Linked DNA regions of Homo sapiens: regions 2 and 3 are each linked to region 1. Evidence: promoter capture Hi-C in 16 types of primary human blood cells and fetal thymus (Javierre and others, 2016). All regions are on one chromosome and are shown on one strand. Each heading gives the region's core, a stretch centred on a gene start or on the middle of the fragment in contact. The rest is flanking DNA. Distances are from core to core; before and after follow the strand shown.

What was found. The method cuts DNA at HindIII sites, captures the fragments that hold promoters and counts their contacts. A CHiCAGO score of 5 or more calls a contact.
Region 2: a contact is called between a fragment that was not itself captured here and the fragment with the promoter of ITIH1 in region 1, in 1 of 17 cell types (M0 macrophages). The highest score is 5.0, in M0 macrophages.
Region 3: a contact is called between a fragment that was not itself captured here and the fragment with the promoter of ITIH1 in region 1, in 1 of 17 cell types (endothelial precursors). The highest score is 5.2, in endothelial precursors.

Annotation. Positions count from the first base shown.
Region 1 is chr3:52,775,172-52,779,000 of GRCh38, forward strand. ITIH1 (inter-alpha-trypsin inhibitor heavy chain 1) reads left to right here and starts at 2,428. Exons shown (of 22, transcript NM_002215.4): 1 at 2,428-2,561; 2 at 2,826-2,846; 3 at 3,169-3,335; 4 at 3,771-3,829. The coding sequence starts at 2,445. RefSeq lists an enhancer at 3,061-3,829. The HindIII fragment of the contact is 3,325 bases long and covers 2,271-3,829 here.
Region 2 is chr3:52,912,868-52,917,029 of GRCh38, forward strand. It overlaps SFMBT1 (Scm like with four mbt domains 1), which reads right to left. Exons shown (of 21, transcript NM_016329.4): 14 at 3,283-3,347; 15 at 611-750. Among named protein-coding and RNA genes, the nearest start is that of STIMATE-MUSTN1, 17 kb to the left of the region's middle. The HindIII fragment of the contact is 3,302 bases long and covers 885-4,162 here.
Region 3 is chr3:53,026,257-53,030,515 of GRCh38, forward strand. The region is part of intron 1 of SFMBT1 (Scm like with four mbt domains 1); the gene reads right to left. Among named protein-coding and RNA genes, the nearest start is that of SFMBT1, 18 kb to the right of the region's middle. The HindIII fragment of the contact is 551 bases long and covers 1,130-1,680 here.

The sequences.
Region 1 (3,829 bases), core at 1,178-3,677:
TTCCCGCCTTCCCCTTCCCAAGCACTGCTCTTTTTTCCAGGCACCTCATCCAGGAACCTTCTCCTAATCCCTGCAGGAGATGAGCCTCTGCCCCTCCAAATTTCTATCTCTTCAGCTTCTCATCACTCCTTGGGATTCAGTGGGCTCCCTTTGACTTGTCTGATTCCCTTTTCCCCTGACATCAGCTCACTGAACACAGCAGGGCACTCAGGTTTCTGTATGGTGGCCTCTCAGTGCCTGGCATTGTGCCCAACACACTGCAGGGCTTGGTCGATACTGGTGCAGGAAATAAGCAGAACTTCAAATGTACACTGTCATGTCGATCCAGCTTCTCTTCTACAAAGGCCAGAAGACAGGCCAGAAGGTGACCGTGGCCTAAGGACAATAAACTCTTCCCAGAAGCTGCTCTGTGAGACAAAGTCCAGGACAAGCAAACAGAGATCAGTGAGGGCTCTGGGCCCCCTCCTCTTATCAGGGTCACAGCAGCCAGCACATCCCAACCCAGGTCACAGACTAGACTGGCCAGGGGCCCTGTCTGCCCAGTATGCTGTGGTTTTTGGGGAACAGGGTGGGTTTGGCAATAAAAAAATAAGAAACTGCAGGTGCAAGATGGGTCTCTGGGAACTCCTGTCTCTAGGATCTTCAAGTCTGCTTCTCTGTCATTACATGATGGCCTTGGGCTTTAGAGCCTGAGAGACCTGGTTTGAATCCCTGTTCTGTCTCTTGGTATGGGGCCAGTGTCCCAGGAACGTTGCGAGGATAAAATTAGACAATAAAGGGTTTAGAGGAATGCATGACACAAATGAGTCCTCGATTATGAAAACATGTCATTCATCTTCAGCTCCCCTTTATCTGCCAGGCCTCCCTGCCCAGGTGCAGGAACGAGGAAGCTCACTTCTGTTCTTTCTAGAACTGGGTAAGAACCTCAGAGAGGTGAAGCAACTGGCCTAAAGCGCAGATCTCCCATCATGCCTCACCCCGACCGTCCAGACTGTCTCTGACAGAGCTAATACCAGGTTAGCACTGTGAGAATCACCAGCATGGCTGGATGTCACACACTTTCTAAGCCACCGTGTCTGCCTCCCTGGCCAAAGCATGACTGAAAAGTGTGTTGATGCTGAAAGAATTTTGAAACAGTCTGGGCAACAAAGTGAGACCCTGTTTCCCTCCCTTTCTTTTCTTTTTTCTTTTCTTTTCTTTTCTTTTTTCTTTTCTGTTCTTTCTTTCTCTGTCTCTCTTTCTTTTCTTTTCTTTCTTTCTTTTTGGAGACAGTCTCGCTCCGTCACCCAGGCTGGAGTGCAGTGGCACAATCTTGCCTCTCTGCAACCACCACTTTCCAGGCTCAAGCTATTCTCCTGCCTCAGCCTCCTGAGTAGCTGGAACCACAGACGCATGCCACCATACCTGGCTAATTTTTGTATTTTTGGTAGAGATGGGGTTTCACCATGTTGCCCAGGCTGGGCTGGAACTTCTGGCCTCAAGTGATCTGCCTCCCTCAGCCTCCCAAAGTGCTGAGATTACAGGCATGAGCCACCTCGCCCGACTGAAACCCTGTTTCAACAAAAAATAAAAATAATCAGCTGGGTGTGGTGCCACATTCCTGTGGTTCCAGGTACTCAGAAGGCTGAGGTGGGAAGATCAGTTGAGTCTGGGAGGTCGAGGCTGCAGTGAGCCAAGATCGCACCACTGTATTCCACCTGTGCGATAGAGGGAGACCCTGTCTTAAAAAAAAAAAAAAAAAAGAAATTTGAAAGTAAAGCCTGGCCGGGCCCAGTGGCTCACTCCTGTAATCCCAGCACTTTGGGAGGCTGAGGCGGGCAGATCACCTGAGGTCAGGAGTTCGAGACCAGCGTGGCCAATGTGGTGAAGCCGTCTTTACTAAAAATACAAAAATTAGCTGGGCATGGTGGTGTGCACCTGTAATCCCAGCTACTCGGGAGGCTGAGGCAGGAGAATCACTTGAACCCAGGAGGTGGAGGTTGCACTGAGCCAAGATCCTGCCACTGCACTCTAGCACTCAAGACCAAAACTCCATCTCAAAAAAAAAAAAGTAAAGCCTAATGAAGTTTAGAAATCCATTTTTAACTGTTGCTTCTTGCCACATGTCACCGTGTCACTGGTGCTGCCTTGTGCCAGCCCGAGGATGAGATGAGCCATCCGGGGATCCTCACAGTTCACATAGGCTAAGCGCAGTTCTACACAGAGGGACATGGTCTGGAGCCCCATCAGTAGTTTAACCACCCAGAGCTGGGAACCCCCCTGAGGCAAAAAGCTTCCACTGCCAAATTTTGATTCCTCTAAATGTGTTAGGTTGATGCAAAAGTCATTGCGGTTTTTGTCATTAATATTTGCCTGCACCTTGTCTAATGTTTAATCCATGTTTATCCAGCACTGTATTGATTACTGGTCTGACTGAGGTGACAGGGCAGCAGGAGCCTTAGAGCATGGACGGTGCCATGGGGCCTCGGGGGCTGCTGTTGTGCATGTACCTGGTATCTCTCCTCATCCTGCAGGCCATGCCTGCCCTGGGCTCGGCTACAGGCAGGTCCAAGAGCAGCGAGGTATATGGCTAAGCCCACAGGGCAGAAATAGGCAGCTGAACCTGGATGAGGCCCCGGGCGGGACACAAGACCCCCATTCAAGGGGCCAGGGTCACCCCCACCACCTCCACCACTTCTGAGTGGAGAGGTGACCTCCCAGCACCACCAAGGAGGTGAAGCTAAGGGGCAGAGGACACAGGCTGTGTTCCACTCCCATCCCTGAACTGGCAGGCCGGTGGTCCCCTGAGTTTTCCTCTCACACTTGACCCTGATTTTGTTTTGCAGAAGCGACAGGCTGTGGACACCGTGAGTAAGAGTCCTGGCAAAGGGGTCTGTGACAGAGCCCTTTTTACAGGCTTGCTTTCCCCAACCTGTCAGGGGTGGACCCCTCTATCAGGGCCATAGGCATGGGGTACTCTCCAGGGTCCTAGAAATGGGGACTTGTTCCCATCTCACCTCATATCCCACAGCACGGTCTCAGCCAGAGAGCAGGGGTCTTCCTGCGGTCTGTTCTTCCTGCATCTGGGCACCATGCACTGGGGCTAAGTGCCAAGTCCCCGTACCACAGGAAGTCCCTCGCTGACAGAGGCCCTGTCTCAGGCCACAGCTCCTTCATGTCTCACTTTAGGCTGTCGATGGCGTGTTCATCCGGAGTTTGAAAGTCAACTGCAAAGTCACCTCTCGCTTCGCCCACTATGTTGTCACCAGCCAAGTGGTCAACACTGCCAATGAAGCCAGGGAAGTGGCCTTCGACCTGGAAATCCCCAAGACAGCATTCATCAGTGACTTTGCCGTGTGCGTGCCTGCCCAACTCCCATGCCTTCTCCCAGGGGTGCCGCTTACTAGTCCCAGCTTAAGAACAAGGATCGGAGTGGCCAGATAACGCAGAGCATCTCCTCATTCTAGAAGGGCCACAGACCAGCCCTGGCTTTGAGGGGAGGAAGAAGCCCTTTAGGTCTGTGCTTGGCTCCCATCTTGGAGGCAAACTGGGACCCATCACAGCATGTTTCAGGCTAGAACCCAAGGAGCCAAGGCCAGAGTCTGAGGCTTCTTGCTGGCCTCTGACCTGGGCTGCTCACCTCATTGCCCATGGACCCCTGAGTTCCACCATGGGCAGTGGAAGGCTCGTCAGGAGACGTCCTTATCCAAGGGCTCACATGGACAGGCCCTCTCAGGACCTGTGTGGTCAGGAGGCTCATCTTTCCTGAGGGTGTCCTTCCCTCCCTGCAGTACAGCAGATGGAAACGCATTTATCGGAGACATAAAGGACAAGGTGACTGCATGGAAGC
Region 2 (4,162 bases), core at 1,286-3,785, 140 kb after region 1:
TACGGTCAGGAAAAAAACAGGTACCATGATTTTCAAATTGCTCCAGAACATGCTTCCAAATGCTTTCCCAGCCACGGTACACACAGAAAATTATATTTGTTTGGACCACTGTGTAGACAGCTGAGCCTTCTTGTGGCTGGAGGAGTCTGGTCCAGACGCTCTGGCTTCCCCAGATCCTGACTTGCCACCCTGAGGGCTGAAAGGTCTCTTATCTGTTACTTGCAGCATATCACACTGGCTGGGAAGAACAGAAAGCCCAGCAGATGTGTAGCTTTATCACGGTCGCTAGGTTAATGCCACATAGCCACGGCCTTTCAGTCATAGAGTAACCTCACAGTTCACTTTTGTATAGTTCTCTTCTGGTCTCTGACAGAAGACCTTTCTACCCTGACAGAGGTGAACCTGCTGTGTGAAGAGTTGTTTACGTGAATGTTTCCTAGGGAGGAGAAATAATTACATACCCTCTTCACTGTCCAAAACATGAGAAAAGTTAGTAACTTTTGATAAAACCTAGAACTGTCACATCTATGGCATGTGGCTCCCTGTAGAAATGACCATAGGAGAATGCTGTGAAATTTCCAAGTTATTTTGCTCTAGGCCAGAACCTTACCTCTCTAAGGACCAGAACACAGTTCCCAGGTCCTACACATTGAGGCAGCTCAGCAATTCTTCCTTTGTTAAGATATGGCCCTGAGAAGCAACGGTGGTTGAAGTATATCTTTGGACAGCAATATTTTCCATTAATCATAACTGGGAAATGAAGAAAAACAAATATTCAAAACAGTCATTCTCTACCCCACGTTTCCAAAGCTGAACTGCCAGGGAAGAAAAACGAAGCACATGTACCATTATATTAATATAAAGTTTGGAATTACTTATTTTGAAGCTTAACATGTTGTCTGAGAATGCTCTTAAGTAACTTACAGAGCTTATCACTCTGCTGAAATCAAAGAGGGTCCTGAATTAACATGCTGATTAGTTCCTAGGTTACTGCAAAATTGATAGAAGAACCCTATCTTCTATTAATAAAGAAAGTGGAGGGTGTATTTTAAGAACACATGAGGATTCTGGATGATCAATGATTTCTTTTCCAGGTCTTCAAAAACCAACTTTCAATCATCTATTCTGGAATATTTATAGAAATTGTTGAATATTATTGAGAATTAGTTTGTCTCCTAAAAACCACCAAACTAATATGTTGGCAGCCTTTGATGTTGTGAGAGCAATCCCATCTCTGAGATTTCTCAGAGGGCTAAAAGTATGCTGTGACCACATCTCTAAGTTTTTTTTGTACTGTGGGGTATAACTGGGTCTGGAGACCCTTTTCTTCAACTATTTGTCTGTATCAATACTGTCCTTCAATTTAATGTTTTTAAAAAATCCCCTCATAGTGGTAGGCATGTCAGCTGTTGAATGTAAAAAATTCAAAGACACTAAAATACTGCTATAAAGCACAGAGAAGCTCTTCTAATAGATATGCCTGTTAATCCAATGTTAAGGAAAGATATGCGCACACTGCCCATTGTTGATAGGATCCTGCAGTTCATAATGTTTTCTCTTTAATTAAGAATAGTCACAGCCAGGTGTTGTGGCTCATGCCCGTAATCCCAGCAATTTGGGAGGCCAACGGGGGAGCACATCGCTTGAGTCCAGTTTGAGACCAGCCTGGGTAACACAGTGAAGCCCCATCTCTACAAAAAACAAAAACAAAAACAAAAACAAAAAAATCAGCCACATGTGGTGGCATATGCCTGTAGTCCCAGCTACTCGGGAGGCTGATGTAGGAGGACAGCTTGAGCCCAGGAGGTGGAGGTTGCAGTGAGCTGATATCACTGCACTGCACTCCAGCCTGGATGACACAGCGAGACCCTGTCTCAAAACAAAACAAAACAAAAAAACGATGGTCTATCATAGTGGCCAGTATGCTGGTGCTCACATTTCCAGTTGAACCCTGCAACCCAAATGCCTCTTTTCAGAATTAAGGCACTCATACCCCTGCTGCTGGGTATGTTGGCAGCTTACAGTTCCCAGTTTTATGTCTATTCTGGAATCACCCTGAACTGGGTACTGCTCTCAGCAGGAGAGGGCCACCTTGCCCCTTGTGAGGTGGGGAGGGAGCAGTGGCTTACTTCCAATAACTGGTCAGTAAAGTGTGGCCACCACACCTGAATTAGGATCAACTCTGAGTGGTTAGATCAGCTTCAGGGCTCCCAGTGGAACTAGAAGAAACTTCTGTTGCAACTGCATCATGGTTCAACTTATCTCTCTGCCCAATCCTACTTCCTTTACTCCTTCTAAGGAGCTGTTCCCAAAAATACTCCCCAATGAAACTCCTGAATGCATATGTCAGAGTCTCAGACTCTGTTTCCCAGGGAACCTGACCTATGACAAAACCCAAACCAAAAGGCCTTGGCTGAGGTTGTGCAGAAGATATTAATGTCTTAAATTCTGTGGTTTCAGTAGGCATTCGAATGGCCAGGAAAGCATCAAAAGCAAGGAGTTACACAGTCCTAACCCTCTATGTACAAATGATGTAATGAAAAGGCAGTAGGTACAAGAGACGGAAGTACGGGTTTCTAATTTGTGAAAGACTTCAGTTTCATTTCTGGTCTTTCTACTCATAAGCTGTGTGATCTCTCTGAGCTTCGATTTCTCTTCTAGGCATTTACTAAATATCACCCAAATGCGCAATCTGTGCTAGAATACACACAGCCAGGATGCTAAACATTACACAACAAGCACGTGGAAGTTAAGAATAGTTCAAGAGAGGACCCTGGACAAAAGGCTTGAACCTCCAGCAAGGATTTTTCTCTCATTTATCAGGCATTAATTGCCTCTGGGACAATTTCTTTTTCCATTGCTTTATTTTTTTCACATAAACTGTGAAATTTATATACAAAGTATGCATATCATAAAAAAGGGTTTTAAAAAGAATAAACTTCTACCTCTCAACCATCTAGCTTAAGAAAGAACACTGCCTGGAAAACTTCAGGTTCTTTAGCTAAAGTCAAGGATGGTAACATTGGCCTTCTGAGCCGTTGGCACACAACGGTTGATCAGTAAAGAATAGCTACAATTATTAGAAATGGACGGAACTATCAGCCTAGAGATGATTATTAAACTAAACACATCTTAGACAGTTATAACTCTAAAGTCACAATTAAGAGACCCCTCTATGAAGACACATACTATACATCAAATGTACTGTTTTAAGTTATTTTCAGATATAGTCCATTAAAAGAAACTAAGTCTTCTTTTCCTTAAGATGACATGTGCTTATACCTGACTCTGTGGAGTTCAGCTCCTGATTCCTCAGGCCCTCGTGGACAGTCCTCGAGGATGGTACTCTGGGTCAAGAAAACACAGTAAAATAGTGAGATAATTCTTAAGATCAGTAAAGTGTGAGGCTTAGTTTCCTTCAAATCTAAGAAGAAAGCAAATGTGGCATGTTCGCAAAATCTGTAACAGAAGGTACTCCCTTGATGATACTTTTTTTTTTTTTTTTTTTTTTTAAAAGAACAAGGCTGGATGCGGTGGCTCACGCGTAATCCCAGCACTTTGGGAGGCTGACGTGGGCGGGTCACAAGGTCAGGAGATTGAGACCATCCTGGCTAACACTGTGAAACCCCGTCTCTACTAAAAATACAAAAAATTAGCTGGGCATGGTGGCAGGCACCTGTAGTCCCAGCTACTAAGGAGGCTGAGGGAGGAGAATGGCGTGAACCCAGGAGGCAGAGCTTGCAGTGAGCCGAGATCGTGCCACTGCACTCCAGCCTAGGCAACAAAGCAGGACTCTGTGTCAAAAAAACCAAACAACAACAACAACAACAACAACAACAAAAAACTACAACAACAAAAAAGAACAATTGTTTTTAAAACTATATATAGGGCATAATGAGCCAATGGACAGTCTGTATATAGCATTGTGATACTACATGTTCAAACTTTCTCTTCATTCACTGGGCAAAAAAATTACAAAATTTCTTGTGAGATGCTTAAATCACAAATAAACTACTCATTTTTCAACAGTCAAAGAACAGAAACTTTATATAGGGTTCGTTTTCTTCGTCCATCAGTTTTCAAATTAAAGACAAATTATGTTATTTAAAAAAAAACAGAGGCTTATTCTGTATGTAGCAATCACTGAAAAAAGGCTAATTTA
Region 3 (4,259 bases), core at 155-2,654, 250 kb after region 1:
CTGCTATCCCACCAAAATTCTCCAGTAAGTTAACATGAACTAAATTTTTGGTCCCTTTCCTAGCATTCTACCAAAATCAGTTTAATTTTTAAAATAATAAAAATATTTTATTGTACTAGAAAGGAAAGATTCTAAAAACACACAAAACCATAAGTCAAGACAGCAAACGACTCACACGTAGCCACTCAGTGAGGACAGTAAGTCTTCCTTAGCAATTAAAGAGCAAATAGAGGAACTCAACAGAGAATACAAAGTAAAAAGGCTGAGGCCCTTTAAGGATAGCTGGAATTCCTACCAAGCTGCATGTTCATGGCCACAAGTTAACAGAGTTTACCCTCCCTCCCTGTGCCCCCACAGCTGCTCACTGCAGTTACAGGTAGGTCCCTGTGGGGCTGCCTACAGTCCTAGATATAACAGCCCAGAGATCTGTGTGGTTGGTTCTTAGCCGCACTCTCAAAAAGGAAGAGCTGGCAAGAACCTCAACAAAATTAAATAATAGCTTAAGAAGGAGGCAGCGCTAAAGATAAAGGTTTGAGAAGGGATTTTTTTTCTTCCTTTAGAGACAGGGTTTTGCCCTGTCCCTGGAGAGGCTGGAGTAAGATGGTGCAATCACGGCTTACTGCAGCCTCGACCTCCTGGGTTCAGCCTCCCAAGTAGCTAAGACTACACAATCGTGCCACCGCACCTGGCTAATTTTTCAATTTTTTGTAGAGATGGGGTCTCGCTAGGTTGCCCAGGCTGGTCTCAAACTCCTCGTCTCAACTAATCCTCCCTCCTTGGCCTCCCAAAGTGCTAGGATTATAGGCATGACCCACCATGCCCAACAGGGAAGGGAATTCAAAAGAAAATTTCAGGGTTACTTTCTTATTTTACACTAGATGTTTCCTCTATTAAGACCTGAAATTTTTAGCTTATTAAAAATTCTTACACTAATAATACAATATAGAAGTATTCACAAATCACTAACTCACTGCCATTTACTCCTACAAAAAATCCTTTCTCAAAACAAAACTCTACAAATGTTAGCCCATTCCCCCACCCCCGTTAAAACACCTTCCATAGTAGACGCTTTACACTTTTTTGACAACACTTAAACACAAGTTCTGTATCATTTCCTATCCTGATTATAAGCTTCTCTAGGCCAGGGAACTTACTCAATTTTGCATTCCCTAAACCCCTGGCACCACTGCTTCATGTCACAGCTACTTAGTGTCTGCTAAATGAATTACTATGGTATCAGATCATGGCACCTCCAGTTCACTAATGAGAAAATTCAACTTTTTAACACAGCAATAACATTTCTGCCTCCAGGAATACTGTCATTTTCACAGGAGAAGGAAATTCAGTGATTCAGTGCCTACCATCTGCCCCAGAGGTCAGCTATTTCTGACAAGTCCTAGTGTGCACATGGGCCAATCAGGCTGCAGCTGCCTTTTTTCACAGGCATGGATGGAAGAATGAGAAAGGTCACTAAAGCAGAGTCCGTATGTAAATTCGTTAGGCATCATCCACAGGAAATTTGCTTCCTCTTAAAATCCTGTGAAATTAAAACATGCCTTTAAGCCATTGTTTCTTCCCCCTGTTCTTTAACCCATTTATGCTGGAGGTTGCAAATTTTTTTGTGTGAAAACTCAGACCTTGGTGATGACCTTGAGCACTATGATATAAATAACTCCCACAAGCTTAGCGTTCCAGTAATGGAACAGTAGGCATAAATGGGTTAAACTTTGGATAGTCCAACTTGCCAGGTTACCCCATTGTTTACAAAGCCTTTCACAGTACAAAAAACTTGATTAACCCTAATTGCCTGCTGACGTCTACGGTTGTTTCTTTTTCTCAGACCACTCTTTTTGAGACAGGGTCTTGCTCTGTCATCCAGGGTGGAGTGCAGTGGCTCGAACACAGCTCACTTGGAGGCAGATTCAAGTGATCTTCCTGCCTCAACCACCTGAGTAGCTGAGACTACAGGTGCACACCACCACACTCAACTAATTTTTGTATTTTTTGTAGAGACAGGGTTTTGTCATGTTGCCCATGCTGGTCTCGAACTCCTGGGCTCAAGCAATCCACCTGCCTTGGCCTCCCAAAATGCTGGGATTACAGGCATGAGCCACCATGCCTCGCTTTCAGACCACTTCTTGAAGTCACCTTAGTTCCATAAAACTTGTGTGTTGACATACAGTGTGATACTGTTTCTTTGCCACAAATTCAACTCTACAAGTCACATCTCTTTGTCTGCCTTCATGGGTCAAAACTACTTACTAGCTGGGCATGGTGGCACATGCTTGTACCACTAGTCCCAGCTACTCGGGAGGCTGAGATGGGAAAACAGCTTGAGTCCAGGAGTTGGAGGCTGTAATGTGCTATCATGATCATACCTGTGTATGGTCACTGCATTCCAGTCTGGGTGACATAGCAAGACCCCATCTTAAAAAAAAATTACCTGCTAGAACACAGAATAAATGGCAGAAAGAAGGCCATAGCAGAGCAAACACAACTCAGAAACGCCCAGTCTAGCACTCGTGGCTGGGAACCCTTGCAGGGAAGTGCACAAGTACTCTCAGAGGGGACCTGCCTGCCTGTCACTGGCTTGGTGTGAACACTCTCTGAGCAAGTCACAAGAGTTATGGGCTAGGCCGGGCGCGGTAGCTCATGCCTATAATCCCAGCACTTTGGGAGGCCAAGACAGGCAGATCACAAGGTCAGGAGCTTGAGAAGATCCTGACTAACACGGTGAAACCCCGTCTCTTCTAAAAATACAAAAAAATTAGCCAGGCATGGTGGCGGGCGCCTGTAGTCCCAGCTACTCGGGAGGCTGAGGCAGGAGAATGGCATGAACCCGGGAGGCGGAGCTTGCAGTGAGCCGAGATGCACCACTGCACTCCAGCCTGGGCGACAGAGCGAGACTCCGTCTCAAAAAAAAAAAAAAAAAAAAAAAGTCATGGGCTAGAAATGTACTACCATGGGGGAGAAAAAGAATAGACTACCACAAATTGTCACACTTTTTAGGAAAATATTTTACAGAAAATGGCAGTATGCAGAGCGTTATTGAAGGGTTATAAATATATTCTCTGAGGGGTATTCTGAAGTTCTTTTAATGAAGGATAATAACTAAGAGCTTGGGCTACAAAGGCATATACAACACTGTAAGATTCAACTACAGAATGCTTCAAGATTCCAAACTCAGTTTCTTTAGAAATTCTGCGCCAGAACAGGAGCAGCATTTTTAAAATTCCTTACCAAGTAGCCCAGGTAAAAACCAACTTTTAAAAACTTAGCTATATTTCTGCCAATGTACAAAAGAATACCACCCAAATACAGAAATTGATACAATTTGTTAATCCTTGCTGCTGCAATTTTCTCAAAACGAAAATACAAAAGCAAAGTATCTGAATTCATAACAAGCAGCATACATTCAGGCCTTAGGCTTCAAAAGCATGGTCAACACCTCAGTAGTCTGAAGACATCTTCAGATGCTTTAGTCTCCCAAGACTCAGCTGGGGATTCTGCCTATGCCATCCCCTCTGCAACATGTGGTGGGTGGAGGGTGGGGAGAATGGGGGTGGTAGAAGGCCTCTCCACGACTCTCTACCTCCAACTCCTCTTACTCCACTGCACCCAGTTCCTCTACCCTTGGCATCTTGGGGGCAGGGAGGCTGGAGAACAGTCTACCCCCACAAATACACTAACTTAGAAAAAAAAACACTTTTAAGTGTTTAGTATTAGAAATACTAACTTAGAAAAAAAAACCAGTTTAAATATTAGAAAACTTTTCTTAATCCAAGCAAATTCAATTATCATTAGTCTATGGTACTGTTTGCAGCAGCAAAAAAAAACCCAAAATATAAATAAATATGGAAACAAATAAATATGGTGCATCCATGCAATAAACTACTAGGCAACCATTAAAAGAATGCAGCAGATCTATGTGTACTTGGATATATCCAAGATATTTTCAGTGAAAAGAGCGAAGTGCAAAACAATGTCTAAAATATATCACCATTTGAGTTTTTTTAATATGGATGCGGAAATATATGATTTACACACATAGAATGTTTCTATAAAAATACAAAAGAAACTGGGAATAATAGTGGCCTACAGAAGGGACTGAGGAACTAGGGGTTTCAGTAAAAAGGAATACACTCTTTTTTGATATTCAAAAAAAAATTTTACTATGTATGTGTATCCCTGTTTAAAATGTTTTAAAGGCGTACTTAAGTCTGTGATGATGATTTTAAAAAATAAAGCAACAGAAGAAA